Regions from separate parts of the Homo sapiens genome. Here region 2 is linked to region 1. The links are contacts of gene promoters, found by promoter capture Hi-C in blood cells and fetal thymus (Javierre and others, 2016). All regions are on one chromosome and are shown on one strand. The core of a region is centred on a gene start or on the middle of the fragment in contact, and the rest is flanking DNA. Distances in the headings are between cores, read along the strand shown. Region 1 holds the start of TNFRSF21 (TNF receptor superfamily member 21). Region 2 has its middle 7.8 kb from the start of ADGRF1.

Evidence for each region. Contacts are between HindIII fragments. The CHiCAGO score rates a contact against its expected background, and 5 or more counts as called.
Region 2: a contact is called between a fragment that was not itself captured here and the fragment with the promoter of TNFRSF21 in region 1, in 6 of 17 cell types (M0 macrophages, M2 macrophages, M1 macrophages and 3 more). The highest score is 10.9, in M0 macrophages.

The regions. Positions count from the first base shown.
Region 1 is chr6:47,305,871-47,313,275 of GRCh38, forward strand. TNFRSF21 (TNF receptor superfamily member 21) reads right to left here and starts at 4,035. Exons shown (of 6, transcript NM_014452.5): 1 at 3,546-4,035. The coding sequence starts at 3,641. RefSeq lists enhancers at 2,986-3,708, 3,872-4,051, 4,003-4,297 and a silencer at 3,502-3,731. The HindIII fragment of the contact is 9,028 bases long and covers 3,978-7,405 here.
Region 2 is chr6:47,046,452-47,053,890 of GRCh38, forward strand. No RefSeq gene overlaps it. Among named protein-coding and RNA genes, the nearest start is that of ADGRF1, 7.8 kb to the left of the region's middle. The HindIII fragment of the contact is 483 bases long and covers 5,839-6,321 here.

The sequences.
Region 1 (7,405 bases), core at 2,785-5,284:
GAGGGCAAGGGGCATCTCTGACTAAGTAGTGTCACTCTGGGCAAGCCATTCTAGAGCATTCCTTATCACTGGCACAAACCTAAAGCTCTCATGGATCTTGTCTCTGCCTTACAGAGATATGATATAGCAAGGGTAAGTGTCTCAGGCAGAATAGTACAATTGGTAAAGTCAAGATGGTGGAAGGTAAGCTTAGATTCTGAAGACAAAGCACAATCATGCACACTAGACTTACTGGGTGTCGAGCAACAAGAATGTTTTGTCCACCTGAGCCCCAGACTTTTGAACCCAGCTCTTGTCTTTCAGTGTATGTTTTACTTTCTATTATCATGCAGACACTCATCAGAAATAGAAGTGCAAGCAGCAAGAATACTTCCTTCCAAAGGCATTCCTGTAATTCTCATTCACGTTCTGTAACAAACCAAACCACCTTCTTAACTTTTCCCCAGTGAGCCTTCTCTGTTGTTACATTTCATTATCAAGCAATTTGGACTTGTGAAACACGCAGTGTGGCACAGGGCTAAGGGAGGACATGAGCTGAAGAGCCAGGCAGTCCTGGGTTCTGGCCCCAGCAATATCACGTGCAAGCTGTGTGGCCTGGGACAAACCAATGAAGTTCTGGGAGCTTCCATTTTCTCAACTATAAAAAGGAGACAATATCACCTGCTTCACAAAGATGCTATGAATAAATGAGATACTGTATACAAAGCACCTGGCATGTAGCAATTGCTCTCTCTATACATATACAATTGCTATATACATGTGTATATATTATATCATATTGTGTACCTATATATTTGTATTTTTATAAGCTTATAGTAAGCTATTTTTCATGCAGTTAGCCGGTCATGACAAACAAAAAGTCATAACACAAAAATGATGACAATAAATATTATCACACAAAAAGGGAGATATTTGAAAGAAGAGCATTAAAAGACATAATAAATAGAACATTTTACTGGGATTATTACTTTTTAATCTAACTGTAATACGTGGGCAGGCCACTAACTTGCCCACCTCCCCCAGTAGTGTTCTGAGTACCCTGCCACGTGTACCCAGGCTCCAGTACCTGATGTCCGTTATGTTCACATGGCCAAGGATCCCAATGGGATAAATACTTCTTGGAACAGTATCATGAGATCATCATTTTATACATTAACAAAGCCTGTGCTGTGGACTTGGGCATGCAGAATAAGAATGTGAAAGACAAAAGGCATTTCCTCCCCACCCTGGATGGGGATTATAACATAGTCTCTACTGATTCCTGGCACACCCTCCAGTCACCCTTCAGGATGAAGGGCTGAACCTCATGCCATTTCATGAATTTACCTGAAGTCTTTTTAGCATAGCTAGCAGAAGAATAAGGAATCCTGTATTGGTTATCAACTTGAGACTGCTCCTAAGCCCCATTATAAATTTTATCTTTTTCAAAGTAGCCAAACTTAAATTGTCAGGTCTTTAGTTGCAAATCCAGTGCACAATTTTTAGGGTAGGTTGAGTTTGATGACTTATTTTTTATTTTGGTTTTGGAGACAGGGTCTCACTCTGTCACTCAAGCTGGAGTGCCGTGGCATGGTCACAGCTCACTGCAGCCTCAACATCCTGGGCTCAAGCCATCCTCCCACCTCAGCCTCCTGAGTTGCTGGGCATACAGGCGCACACCACCGCCACACCCACCTAATTTCTTGTAGAGATGGGGTCTCACTATGTTGCCCAGGCAAATCTCGAACTCCTGGACTCAAGCAATCCTCCCACCCTGGCCGCCCAAAACGCTGGGATTACAGGCATAAGCCAGGGTGCCTAGCCTGATGATTCAAGAAAAGGAGCTGGGCCCTTTCTCAGTTAGTTAAGGCAACCTACCATTTGATTACATCAAGACCTTTGTTTAATTACCTACCTCATGCTAAAAGGTAAAATAAATGGAGTATTGCACAATGACTTAAGATTTAATCTGGGAATGGACTCTGTGAGGCATATAATAATCAGATGTGTTAGAAGCACCTGAAACATAGTAGTGGATAGTAGTGGATCTAAAGCTGTGAAAAAGGAAATGATGATAGTTCTCACTCCACTGAACTAGGATCAGTGTTCCCATGGACCTAGATGTGTTTCTCTCCACACCAAGACTGTCAATCCAGGTTCATTGTCCCAAGAGACTCCCCGACTACTGCTTACCATCCACCACACTTGTTTCACTTGTTTCAAAGATATAAACCTTGGCCATGCCATTAATAAGTGGGCAGAAAAGAGTTTCTGAAGGGAGACTGGGACTTGCCTCATTATAAATGCTAACAGTAACAAACTTTTATTTAGTCTCTCTCTTCCTCTTAAAACACACACACAAGGAACCAGAGTGTCTGTAGGATGAATTCCCAGGCCATAGCAACTGCAATGTCCTGAGATCTAAGCAGTTCTTGGCTGGCCAGGCGTTAAGCCCTTTTGGGGAAGGAGACAGCAAGCCTGCTTTTCCCTTACACAGCCCTGTCGTGAAAACAAGCTCTTGTTTCTTGGGGGTTTTTTTGTTCGGTTTTTAGCTAAGAATTTCCATCCCTCCTGCAGTGATAAAAGATAGGCAAGGGAAGCTCAAGGGTTTGATCTCAAATTTTCTTCCACCTAACTTGCCCCTTCACCCCAATATTTGGAAATAAAGGGAGGGAATTTGGGGGAAGTTGAGGGTAAGTTTTTGGTCAAGATGATTGACCCGAGATGTGGATGCAGCTTAGACGATGAGGGAGACTGCACCACCCTGCAGGGTCACCTGCCTAGCCACAGGTAAACGAGGGATCGGAAAGACTGTAGAAAATTCATCTTCCTTCACACACATCTCCTTCCCCCTCCCCCCATTCCAGTGCCGGCGCGCTGGCTGGCTGGAAGCCGGCGCTTTGGAGGCGCCGGAGAGTGGGTCTAAGGGTGATATTTCGGCATACAGAACCTGAGACCCCACCCGAGCCAAGAGGGAAGAGAGAGGGTAAAGGGATTGAGGAGGGGGCGGCTTGCGCCCTGCTCGGGAATGCACCGCGCGACAGCACCCGGAGGTCTCCGGTGTCCGGCGCGCACCGGTACCACTGTCTTCCACTGCGGTAGCATCCCGACATGACATTGCAGCTGCAACAAAGCGCCGGCCTCGGCCGGCCGTGGGAGCCCCACACCGCGGCGAGGCCCCACACCACGCAGAGGGGCAGTGGCCGATGGGTGGGGGGCTGTGGCTGCGGGCGTGGGGAGCGCGAGGTAGGCCGAGTAGGGGGAAAAGCCCTCAAATGCGCAGAAGCTGGGCGGCTACCTCTAGCGTCTCCTCCAGCAAAGCCAGACTGCAAGGAAAACAATTCGTCTTCATTCCCCAGCCCCGGCTGAGCCCTGAGATTCCCCCAAATAACCTAGTCGAGGCCCTCTGGTGTGTTGCCTTCCCTTGGAAACCCCTCAGTGCCCGTAACCCAGTCGGCCGGGCCCCGCGCCTCCCTAAGCCCCGGCCCGGTGACCCGCCCGGCTCCCGGAGAGCGGTTCCTTCTGCTCCGGCGCCGCCGCCACCCCCGGTCCACGCAAGCGCTCACCAGGAGAAGGGAGCCCGCGATCATCGTGGCTGTGGCTCGGCGGGCGATGCGGCTGCAGGAGGCGAGGGCGGTGCTGCTGCTCGGAGAGGTCCCCATGGCTGAACCGGGGACTCGCAGGGGCGCCCGGGGCGCGCGGGGCAGCTGGAATCGGCGGCTGCTTCTGCCCAGCGCCGCATCCACCGCCGCCTCCCGGGCCGGGAGCCCATCTACCTCCAACACCCCATGTGCACTGCTGCGGCCGGGCAGAGGAGGGAGGCGGCAAGGGAGGCTCTAGGGGCGCTCAGCACCTGCCCAGCGGCGCGGCCGCCCAGGCGGGGAGAAGCCGCCGCGACTGCAGCCCGCGTCTCCGGGTGCTCTCCTCCGACAGCGGCTGAGGAGAACCAGGGAGGAGGACTGGGCGCGAGAGAGCAAAGGAACGACTTCCCATAGCGAAGCTTCCAGCCACTGCCAACCACCCTCCTCCGCTGCCCAGACTGGTCGGCGAGGGACTGAGTCGGTGGCCACCGGGCGCAGGGACACACGTGGTGGCGCCGAAGGGGCGGGGGACCGGCCCTTTGTGATGTCACCCGGGAGGAGGCCGGGCTCTTTGTGCGGTTGGAAAGGCGAAGGCGTTCCAGGTAGAGCGGGGAGGGAGAGGGTGCCCCTTGGCGTTCGCTGAGGAAATTGCACGCGCCTGTTGACCCAGGGAAAGCGCTGAGAAAGCATCTCACTCCTGATCTAACTTTACTTATTTTTTCCGAGATAATTCCAACTAAATTATTTCAGCTACATACGCCTTTCCATTGTTTCGGACACGATGATTAAATCAGAGAGCGATGGTGAATAGACCACAGAGCACTTAGATCAACTGCGTGACGAAAAAGGAGACCTGTGTGTTGCTTCTCAAACTTTGCTGCCCTGTGGAATCACCTGGAGAGTTCAAAACATATATATTGATTCTTGGGTCCCACCTCTAGAGACTCTGATTTAATTGGAACAGGACAGGATCTGGTCTGGGCATTGAGGTTTGTTGTTGTTGTTGTTTGTTTGTTTTTTAAGTTTTCAGGGTGATTTTAATATGGGGCAAAGATTTTAATTTTTTATATTTTAATTTTAATATGGGCTTATGAATGCAATTAAGGAAATCCAAACTAAAAGGATTTAAAACCCAGAGTCATTGGTGTTGGGTCCATGGATGGTCTTGGAGGGACTTTTGAACTCCTTGAAATGTATCAAAAGATGCATTTTCCTAATTTAAAAATCAAGAGTTTTGAATCGGATTATCCCTGAGATTTTTTTTAATCACCCTTCCCCCAAAAAATAATGCTAAAAATTTTTGAGTTGATTTCCAAAGGCCTTGTCAGGATGTGGGTGGTAGAATAGGTAGTATTCTGCTTCAGAAGGAGAACTGGAATATTCTCGTGGATGTTGGTATCTCACACACTTCTGAATGTAAGAGAGCAGCTGTTATCCTTTTCTTTGTTTCACCTGGGGGAAGGCCGAGTCTCCTGACTGTGGCCACCATTTCTGGTATCGTGTTATCCATCATCTAGGTACTGACAGCACATGGCACACTGTATTGATATTACCTCTTCAGCCATCCAGTCCACACCCCTCAATTGGGAGCCCTATGGTGCTGGGCTTATCCTAGGCTCCTTTGGTCCCATTTCAAAAGAATCACACTTTTTAAACTATCAGTTTCAAGATCCAACACCCAGTGCTAATAAAGGTAACTTGCTAAGTCATAGGTACCAATTATTTGCTTTATTAGTTAACATGTTGTCCTTTGATTCTTTGCTCTATGCACACTTTGGTAGAAGCTAAAATTAATATGAGGGTTAATTCCAATCTATTATTTCAAACATTTGTCAGTATTGTCTATAAATGTTAGAGTGGGAAAAAAGCTACAATATATAACCTCTAGTGAAATTCAAAGGAGTTCTAGAAAATATTACCATTAATTATGGAGTTTTGGGGAAAGGATGATGGTTGGACTTGCCACTCTCTAGCTATTTTCAGAAGTTGAAAGAGTGAGGGATAGATGCTGTGTTTTCATGCATAACTGTATCAATTTTTTCTTCAAAAATTCAAATGACTGGCCAATACTATTATAAGGTTGGGTTGTTTTTTTTTAAGAAGTTACATAGGTATTAAAGAGGAGGAGGAGCTTCAAATACGTTTTTATTTAGTCCATTTTACTCCTTGCATCCAAACTCACATTTTTCGTGGTAATATATGATTGATTTGCTCTAAAGAGTTGGGCAACTTTAGAGTTTAGTGTCTGGGTTACTATGCAGGTATAAGAAGTTCTTCTCAACTATTTGTCTTCCTAAAACTAAAAGAAAATTGTTTATTTGTGCTTGGACCACTTTGAAACTTCATGAATTCCTGGTGTTCCATTGATCATATCAAGTTGAAATTTAATATACATTTTGAGAGATGAAAAAATTTACTCAATTCTGTTTACTACTAACATTTAAATACATGTCCCTCTATAGAGTGATAGATTATAGATAATTTGAATCTAGATGCAGTGTGAAATTTTATTACTTTGAATTGAAATGTATACATGCCTTCCATTTTGAAGTAACAATGCTGCAACCATTAAATAATTCATTGCCACATTTTCAATGTGGTAACTTAGACATGTCTGTTTTCTGGGAAAGGATAAAAATTCAATGATACATAAGGAAGTTTCTCCCAAAGTTCCAAGGAAAGAGGAGATATGTGTTGATAAATCATAATTATAGCTAAATTTTAAAGGAAGGCCTAAATGAGTTAATCCAATGTCATCTTTGCCATAAAAATTACTCTATCTCCACCCTCCATCCTACCTTTGGACTTTCTCTCTTTCTGCCAATGTTGTACAATTTTTCTAGTTTTCCAACCTCAAAAATCATTGCTAATTCTTTCCTCGTCCTTAGTACATTCCAATTAATGCTTTCCTAACCTTTCATTTTTTTCTATTTTATCTTTCTTGTTAAAAATCTGATATATACATCTGGATACTGAAGAAATCACCAGAGATTGCGCCACTGCAGTCCGCAGTCCGACCTGGGCGACAGAGCGAGACTCCGTCTCAAAAAAAAAAAAAAAAAAAAAAAAAGAAATCACCAGATTTACCATCTTGTCTTAATTATTTTTTTAACTTATCCTGCACACTTTCAGAAGGTCTAGTAAAATTTCATGTTCTTTATAATGAAAATAACAATTGTCCACATTTTGAGAAATGACTGCTGCATGACAAACATCCTGAGCCGATCTATGAGGGAATGACAGAAAGTTGGCAGGAAAATGCCAGCTCCGTTGGGGAGACCCTAACCCAGTGGCGCTAGAGGAATTAAAGACACACACACAGAAATATAGAGGTGTGAAGTGGGAAATCAGGGGTCTCACAGCTTTCAGAGCTGAGAGCCCCGAACAGGGATTTACCCACATATTTATTAACAGCAAACCAGTCATTAGCATTGTTTCTATAGATATTCGATTAACTAAAAGCATCCCTTATGGGAAACGAAGGGTGGGCTGAATTAAAGGAATAGGATGGGCTAGTTAACTGCAGCAGGAGCATGTCCTTAAGGCACAGACCGCTCAAGCTATTGTTGGTGGCTTAAGAATGCCTTTAAGTGGTTTTCCGCCCTGGGTGGGCCAGGTGTTCCTTGCCCTCATTCCTGTAAACCTGCAACCTTCCAGCTTGGGCGTTAGGGCCATTATGAACATGTTACAGTGCAAAAGAGATTTTGTTTATGGCCAGTTCTGAGGCCAGTATATGGCCAGATTTTGGGGGGCCTGCTCCCAACATGTCCCCCTTCTCTGATTTGCAAATCGATAAAAGCAAAGGCAGCTTTGTCATGGTGAGCTACTTCTCGCAGGAGTCAGGT
Region 2 (7,439 bases), core at 4,830-7,329, 260 kb before region 1:
AGTGAGAACATGTGAAGTTTGTCTTTCTTTACCTGGCATATTTCACTAAATGTCCTCCAGCTCCATCCACGTTGTTGCAAATGACAAGATCTCATTCTTTTTTTTGTTGTTGGTTTCTTTCTTTTTTTTTTTTTGTGGTGGATCAGCCAACATTTACGGAGTACTTCCTATGTGCCAAGTACTGTTGTGATCATTTTTCATGTGTTTTTATACGTTCTGCAACCCTATTTTATAGACAATGGAGTGAAGGCATCGAGCAGTTAAGTGAATGGTGAGCCAGAAAATCAACACAACCTGACTTCAAAGTCTGTTCTGTCACACTATTCTCTACTGCTTCCTAAAGACAGATGAAAAATACAAATAGAAGTGTCTGACCCTTGCTAAATATCCAAAGAAAAAGCAAAGGCAAACCAGGTACTAATGAGATAGAACATTCTTATCATCTGAACCTTCCATAATAAATTGGAGAGCCATCAAAATCCTATAGAGTCCACACTTCATTTTATTCAAGAAGTAAGCTTCAAGTGTCACTAAATTCAAGGTCCTGTGTAAATCTGGCAGTTGGTCAAGACGGTATCTGTGGCCTTTAATCAGTTCAGAATGTACAGTATTGATACAGAATTATTATTCTCTGTACAGAATGTACACAGATAACACTGAGAAGAGAAAGCTATAACCTATAAAATAAGTGATAATCCTTTTTCCCCTTCACTCCGTCTGTGTTTAAAATAAGAGTTATACAGCACCAAGAAGCCCACCTCTCCAAGCTCAAAAGATCCTCGTGAGGCCATAGGAAAGGTACAGCTGCAGGCACCAGAACACACCCCCTGCAATCACAGGAGGTGCAGGAATTCTACAGGGTCGGGACAGCCTCAATAGAGAATCTGCTATATCTTACAAGAATCCTCCTTTTTACCATGCAGATTCTAGAGTTCCAGACCCTTTACAGTAAGATGCATTTCTCCACCAGCCTATAGCATCAGAGAAAAATAACACAAGCAAGGCTTCTGGAGAACACTCATGAGTCTGCTGGATTAGAGGCTCACACCCAACAGACTCAGAGTGCAAAGGGTCCTTCCTGTGGATGAGAAGCTCTTCTAGAACAAAATTAAGCTGCTTCCGTCCCTGGGCACTTTTGCTCTGGTGTCATGGCCGTGCTCAACTTCCTCATGAGGACAAACATCTGAAGATGTGACCTGAGATTAGGACATTCTTTTTCACTTACGTATTGTTTCAGCAAACCCCACATTGACTCCAGCACTTCCAAATGTCCTTTAGGCAAAGAGAGACATCTAGTGGCCAAGATTCACAACGTTGTAGCGGCCACCTGTTTACAAAATCACTATGCGGTACAATCACTTAATTTACCATGAAGGTGACTGAGGGACTTAATGGAGGAGGCAGGAGAAGGAGCAGTCCAAACCAGGTAACCTCTGTGACCTGAGTTGCCTTGTCCAGTTTTTCAGGACATAGATTCTGCTTGGAGCAGAGTTCATTCATTCATCTATTTATTCATTTGACAAGCATTTATACTGTCTACTAGGTACAAGACACTGTGTTAAGCCTCAGGACTTCAAAATCTATAAATACACTCTTCAAGCATCTATAATGGAGAAGGTAGGCCAGCAACAATCAGTTAAAATATGTTACGATAGGGGCTGAACACACTGTGCCACAGAAGGCTGTAGGAGAGGCACTTACATGAATCTTTGAGGATAAGAAAAAGCGTTTAAAACACAGGTCTCAAACTGGCACCCTGTGGGCCCCATCTGGCCAGCAGATGTGTTTTGTTTGGACCATGCTTTGTTTTTCTAACTCTGAATTAGTTGCCGACATTTAAACATCAGGGGATTTCACATAAAAATCCAAATTTCAGCTTCTTTTGGAAAATAAGAAGATCTGAAAACATTGGTTTGTATTCCTGCAGGGTCACATTCAATTGGAGCTGCTTTCTTAATGTTTTTACATAACAGTCAATAATGTCTCTGCATAACAGCTTCTTTTAATAAAATGTTGGTAAATTTTACATGAACAAGGTAGAAAACTCAAAATTACAAAAGCATATTCAGTAAACTACCCTTGTTCCACAACTAACCAATCTTCACCTACAAAAGCGCCCACTTTACCAGTTAGAAATTGTATAAATGCATATCCTTCTCTCACAGTTTACACCAAAGTTAATATTACCTGGATTTAAAATATAAACACAAAATATGAAACTTTAAAGACAGTAGAAGAAAACAGTTGTTGCTGATACATTCTTTAAATAATGTGTTGGTTTAATGGCAAAGGTATTCCTAAAGTAAGAACAAAACCTAGATGTCACAAAAAGAAAAAAATGGTATTTTTTTGGTGTCTTCACATAAAAAGGAGAAAAGATTCTGCAAGGTCAGCAATACAATAAACAGCATCCAAATAGAAATAATGATCTGGAAAAAAAGAAGCTATTTTCAATTTATTTAATAAATTTTTCCTAATATGCAAATAGTTCTTTGGAATCAATGAAAAAAGACAATCAACCAGATAAATAGACAAAAGGATATAAATAAATCCACCAAAAAAGCATACAAATAGTTCTAAAGTCTATGAAAAGCAAGGAAACATCTAGGATAACTTGAAAAATGAAGACTAAAGCAATGATGGGATATTATTTTTACCTCTCAGGTAAAAGATCAAAAGCGTTAATGACAACATTGTTGCAGGTAGGAGGAAATAGGCAGTGTCATATATAACTAGCGGGAATATAAGTCAGTAAATCTGTACCAAATGTTTACATTTACATATCACTTGACTTAGCAATTCTATTTCTAGAAATACAACCTACACACATACTTTCATATGTGCAAAATGATATGTATACAATGCAGAATTATTTCTAATATGCTGATTGAAAGTAATCTAAAAGTCCATCAGTAGGTGCGGTGAATTGTATTTGTTTAAAATATATTATATATGCAAGACATGAACCTTTTTTGTTTTGAGAAATTGAAATTTTGAGGTTGTTACTATATTGTAATCTAGCTTAAGCATACAGAAATTGGTACTAAGAGTGGGGTAAAGCTGCCATAAGAGAAATCTGACAATGTATGACATTTGCTTCTTGTCTGGCCAATGAGCAGCAAAGAAATTGTTCTTGGAAACCATATGGGCATGACCTATATAAGAAACCTTTGTGCTTGGCATGGTGGCTCACGCCTGTAATCCTAAAACTTTGGGAGGCCACGGTGGGCGGATCACTTGAGGTCTGGAGTTTGAGGCCAGCCTTGCCAACATGGCGAAACCCCATCTTTACTACAAATACAAAAATTCGCCAGGCATGGTACTGCATGCCTGTAATGCCAGCTACGCAGGAGGCTGAGGCAGGAGAATCGCCTGAACCTGGGAGGCGGAGGTTGCAATGAGTCGAGATTGCAACACTGCACTCCAGCCTGGGCAACAGAGTGAGACTCCATCTCAAAAATAAATAAATAAATAAAAATTTTAAAAAGAGAAACGTGTGATAAATGTGAATGGCAGTTAATATGCTGAACGAGTTTCAGGCTTCAAGCAAGAAAGTTGCAATCCCTTTTACTACAGCTAGTGGTTCTCTTGTCAGTACAATGCTCTTAAAACATAATTGTCACCTCATTTGTTTCATTCCAATCAGCTGCACGTGCCATCATATACGCCTCACATTCTTTTCCAAGCAGTACCTTGAGTCTATCAGGCGTCAGTGGCAGAGCCACACCTTTGGTTTCTTTTCCGGAGTAATTTTATCCACCTGAAAGACTTAGAGCCACCTTACTCATTCCCAGTGTTGAAGGAAAAAGATTTGACGGCCATATCCGTGACTCACTTCTTGTTATTAGGCTTGGATATAATTGGTTTTATATCCAAACCAAGACCACCTCAGTTTTATATTTTATTAGTTAGAGATAGGAATTAGTTACATCTTCTCTCTGATAAGTCCCAGAATTTATGGACTTTTGTTTTTTAATTTTACTTCCATTTGCAAAGTAGCCACCTTTTTCTTGAAATACACAGTCTAAACAATCTGTAGTTTCTTTTGCTGTGCAGAAGCTCTTTAGTTTAATTAGATCCCATTTGTCAATTTTGGCTTTTGTTGCCATTGCTTTTGGTGTTTTGGACATGAAGTCCTTGCCCACGCCTATGTCCTGAATGGTAATGCCTAGGTTTTCTTCTAGGGTTTTCATGGTTTTAGGTCTAACGTTTAAATCTTTAATCCATCTTGAATTGATTTTTGTATAAGGTGTAAGGAAGGGATCCAGTTTCAGCTTTCTACATATGGCTAGCCAGTTTTCCCAGCACCATTTATTAAATAGGGAATCCTTTCCCCATTGCTTGTTTTTCTCAGGTTTGTCAAAGATCAGATAGTTGTAGGTATGTGGCGTTATTTCTGAGGGCTCTGTTCTGTTCCATTGATCTATATCTCTGTTTTGGTACCAGTACCATGCTGTTTTGGTTACTGTAGCCTTGTAGTATAGTTTGAAGTCAGATAGTGTGATGCCTCCAGCTTCTGCACAGCAAAAGAAACTACCATCAGAGTGAACAGGCAACCTACAACATGGGAGAAAATTTTCGCAACCTACTCATCTGACAAAGGGCTAATATCCAGAATCTACAATGAACTCAAACAAATTTACAAGAAAAAAACAAACAACCCCATCAAAAAGTGGGCGAAGGACATGAACAGACACTTCTCAAAAGAAGACATTTATGCAGCCAAAAAATACATGAAAAAATGCTCATCATCACTGGCCATCAGAGAAATGAAAATCAAAACCACTATGAGATACCATCTCACACCAGTTAGAATGGCAATCATTAAAAAGTCAGGAAACAACAGGTGCTGGAGAGGATGTGGAGAAATAGGAACACTTTTACACTGTTGGTGGGACTGTAAACTAGTTCAACCATTGTGGAAGTCAGTGTGGCGATTCCTCAGGGATCTAGAACTAGAAATACCATTTGACCCAGCCATCCCATTACTGGGTATATACCCAAAGGACTATAAATCATGCTGCTATAAAGACACATGCACACGTATGTTTATTGCGGCATTATTCACAATAGCAAAGACTTGGAACCAACCCAAATGTCCAACAATGATAGACTGGATTAAGAAAATGTGGCACATATACACCATGGAATACTATGCAGCCATAAAAAATGATGAGTTCATGTCCTTTGTAGGGACATGGATGAAATTGGAAACCATCATTCTCAGTAAACTATCGCAAGAATAAAAAACCGAACACCGCATATTCTCACTCATAGGTGGGAATTGAACAATGAGATCACATGGTCACAGGAAGGGGAATATCACACTCTGGGGACTGTGGTGGGGTGGGGGGAGGGGGGAGGGGTAGCATTGGGAGATATACCTAATGCTAGATGACGAGTTAGTGGGTGCAGCACACCAGCATGGCACATGTATACATATGTAACTAACCTGCGCAATGTCCACATGTACCCTAAAACTTAAAGTATAATAAAAAAAAAAAAAAACAATCTGTAGCAATTAACTTGTGCTAGTAACATTGTTTTGCATTGACCTACTCATTTGTTTCACACCATGGACTGAATAACATATCTTTGCCTCATTGATTTGAGATGCTACCTTTATTAAATACTAAATTCCTATGTGACTTTGGGTCAATTCATGGATTTTGTATTCATTTCATTCGTCTGTGTCTGCTCAAGAACAACTTAATACTCTGTTTATTGTGACTTCATCATATATCTTTATATCTAATATACTAATTATTCCTCATTATTCTTCCTTTTCAGAATTTTTCTATTTCTGCTTATTAATTTATTCATATAAACTTTAGAATAAGCTTGACTTTCCCCCTCCCCACACACCACAAAAACCTATTGATATATTTATTGAGATTATGTTAAGTGTATAGGTAAATTTGGGGATAATTAATGTCTTTTGAGTTCCTCTAAAGAAGAATATGGCTTGATTTTCTACATGATCAAATAAAATAAAATAATTAAGCAGTGCTGATCATAATTCTGAAAGATGCAATTTTGAACATGATAATCTGTAATTTCAATCATAATTTGGGTTGAAGTACCGAAGGATCAAAATCTCTAGTCTAAAATCTTGAAAATCACAATAAATCCCAAATGTTGAAACCCTGAAACCTGAATTCTGGGGAAGGTATGAATGAGTTTTCAGCTGTAAGCAGGGTTGTTGCATCATGTTAGTTGCATTATGTCAGGCAGAACTATTATTACCTTGTTTTTGTCTTTATTTGCATTTGGAGGGCAATTCAGATGACTGGATGGGCCATGTGATAAGGCAATGATGAAAGCTTCCTTTTAAAAATGCATTATTTCGGCTGGGTGCGGGGGCTCACGCCTGTAATCCCAGCACTCTGGGAGGCCGAGGTGGGTGATCACCTGAGGTCAGGAGTTTGAGACCAGCCTGACCAACATGGTGAAACCCCATCTCTACTAAAAATACAAAAATTAGCTAGGTGTGGTGGCATGGGCCTGTAATCCCAGCTACTCGGGAGGCTGAGGCAGGAGAATCACTTGAACCCAGGAGGCAGAGGTTGCAGTGAGCTGAGATTGCACAACTGCACTCCAGCCTGGGCGACAGAGCGAGACTCATCTCAAAAAAATAATGCATTATTTGTCTGCACTGGCATTCCTTTCAGCTGGTGAAATTCCAGGAGCTTTTAATGAATTAAAGTCGCATTTCTCTGAAGAAGCCAGCAAAGTTACTGACTAGTTTAAAAATAATTATGTGCCTGGTAGGATAGGAAGACACTTATACAACAGTGTTGGGGTTCGATCAACAGTATAGTTCCCACCAAATTTGTAGTCTGTATATAAGTGCACGCGGAATGGACTTTGCATGCGCAAAGCAACCTAGAAGTGTGGTACAGAAGATGGGAAAACAATAGGGAATGCTTATGTTGTTGTATATTGAATCACAGAATGATTTCAAAAAGAGCAAGCACCATATAGAAAATGAAAGTGAACATATTCTCCAAGGAGAATCATCTGGATGCAAGACTTCAAAATAGAGCTAATGATAGTGAAAGCTGGCCAGCTCTTATGAACAGCCTATGTGCAATTATGCATAGTCTATCCCTCTAATTGCTTTTTCATATGGTAAATTTTCTTTTGAGTTTGTTTTTCTTCTTTTTTCTTTTTAAATTTTTGATTCCCAACTATTTTAAATTGACAGCATTATTTTTCACGATTTGCTATGCTATGTATTTCATCTTTACCTCATTTCCAATATTGGAGGTATAAATTGTGTAAAGACTTTTAGAGAGTTCTAATTCATTCTATGCATTTTTTATAAACTTGACTCCATGAAAGTACATTTGACTTCATGTGTAAGCCTCGTGTGTATATGTAAAAATATTGAAACTTTCTTAATAAATGAAGAAATGTCCTTTTAGTGCATCTGCTTT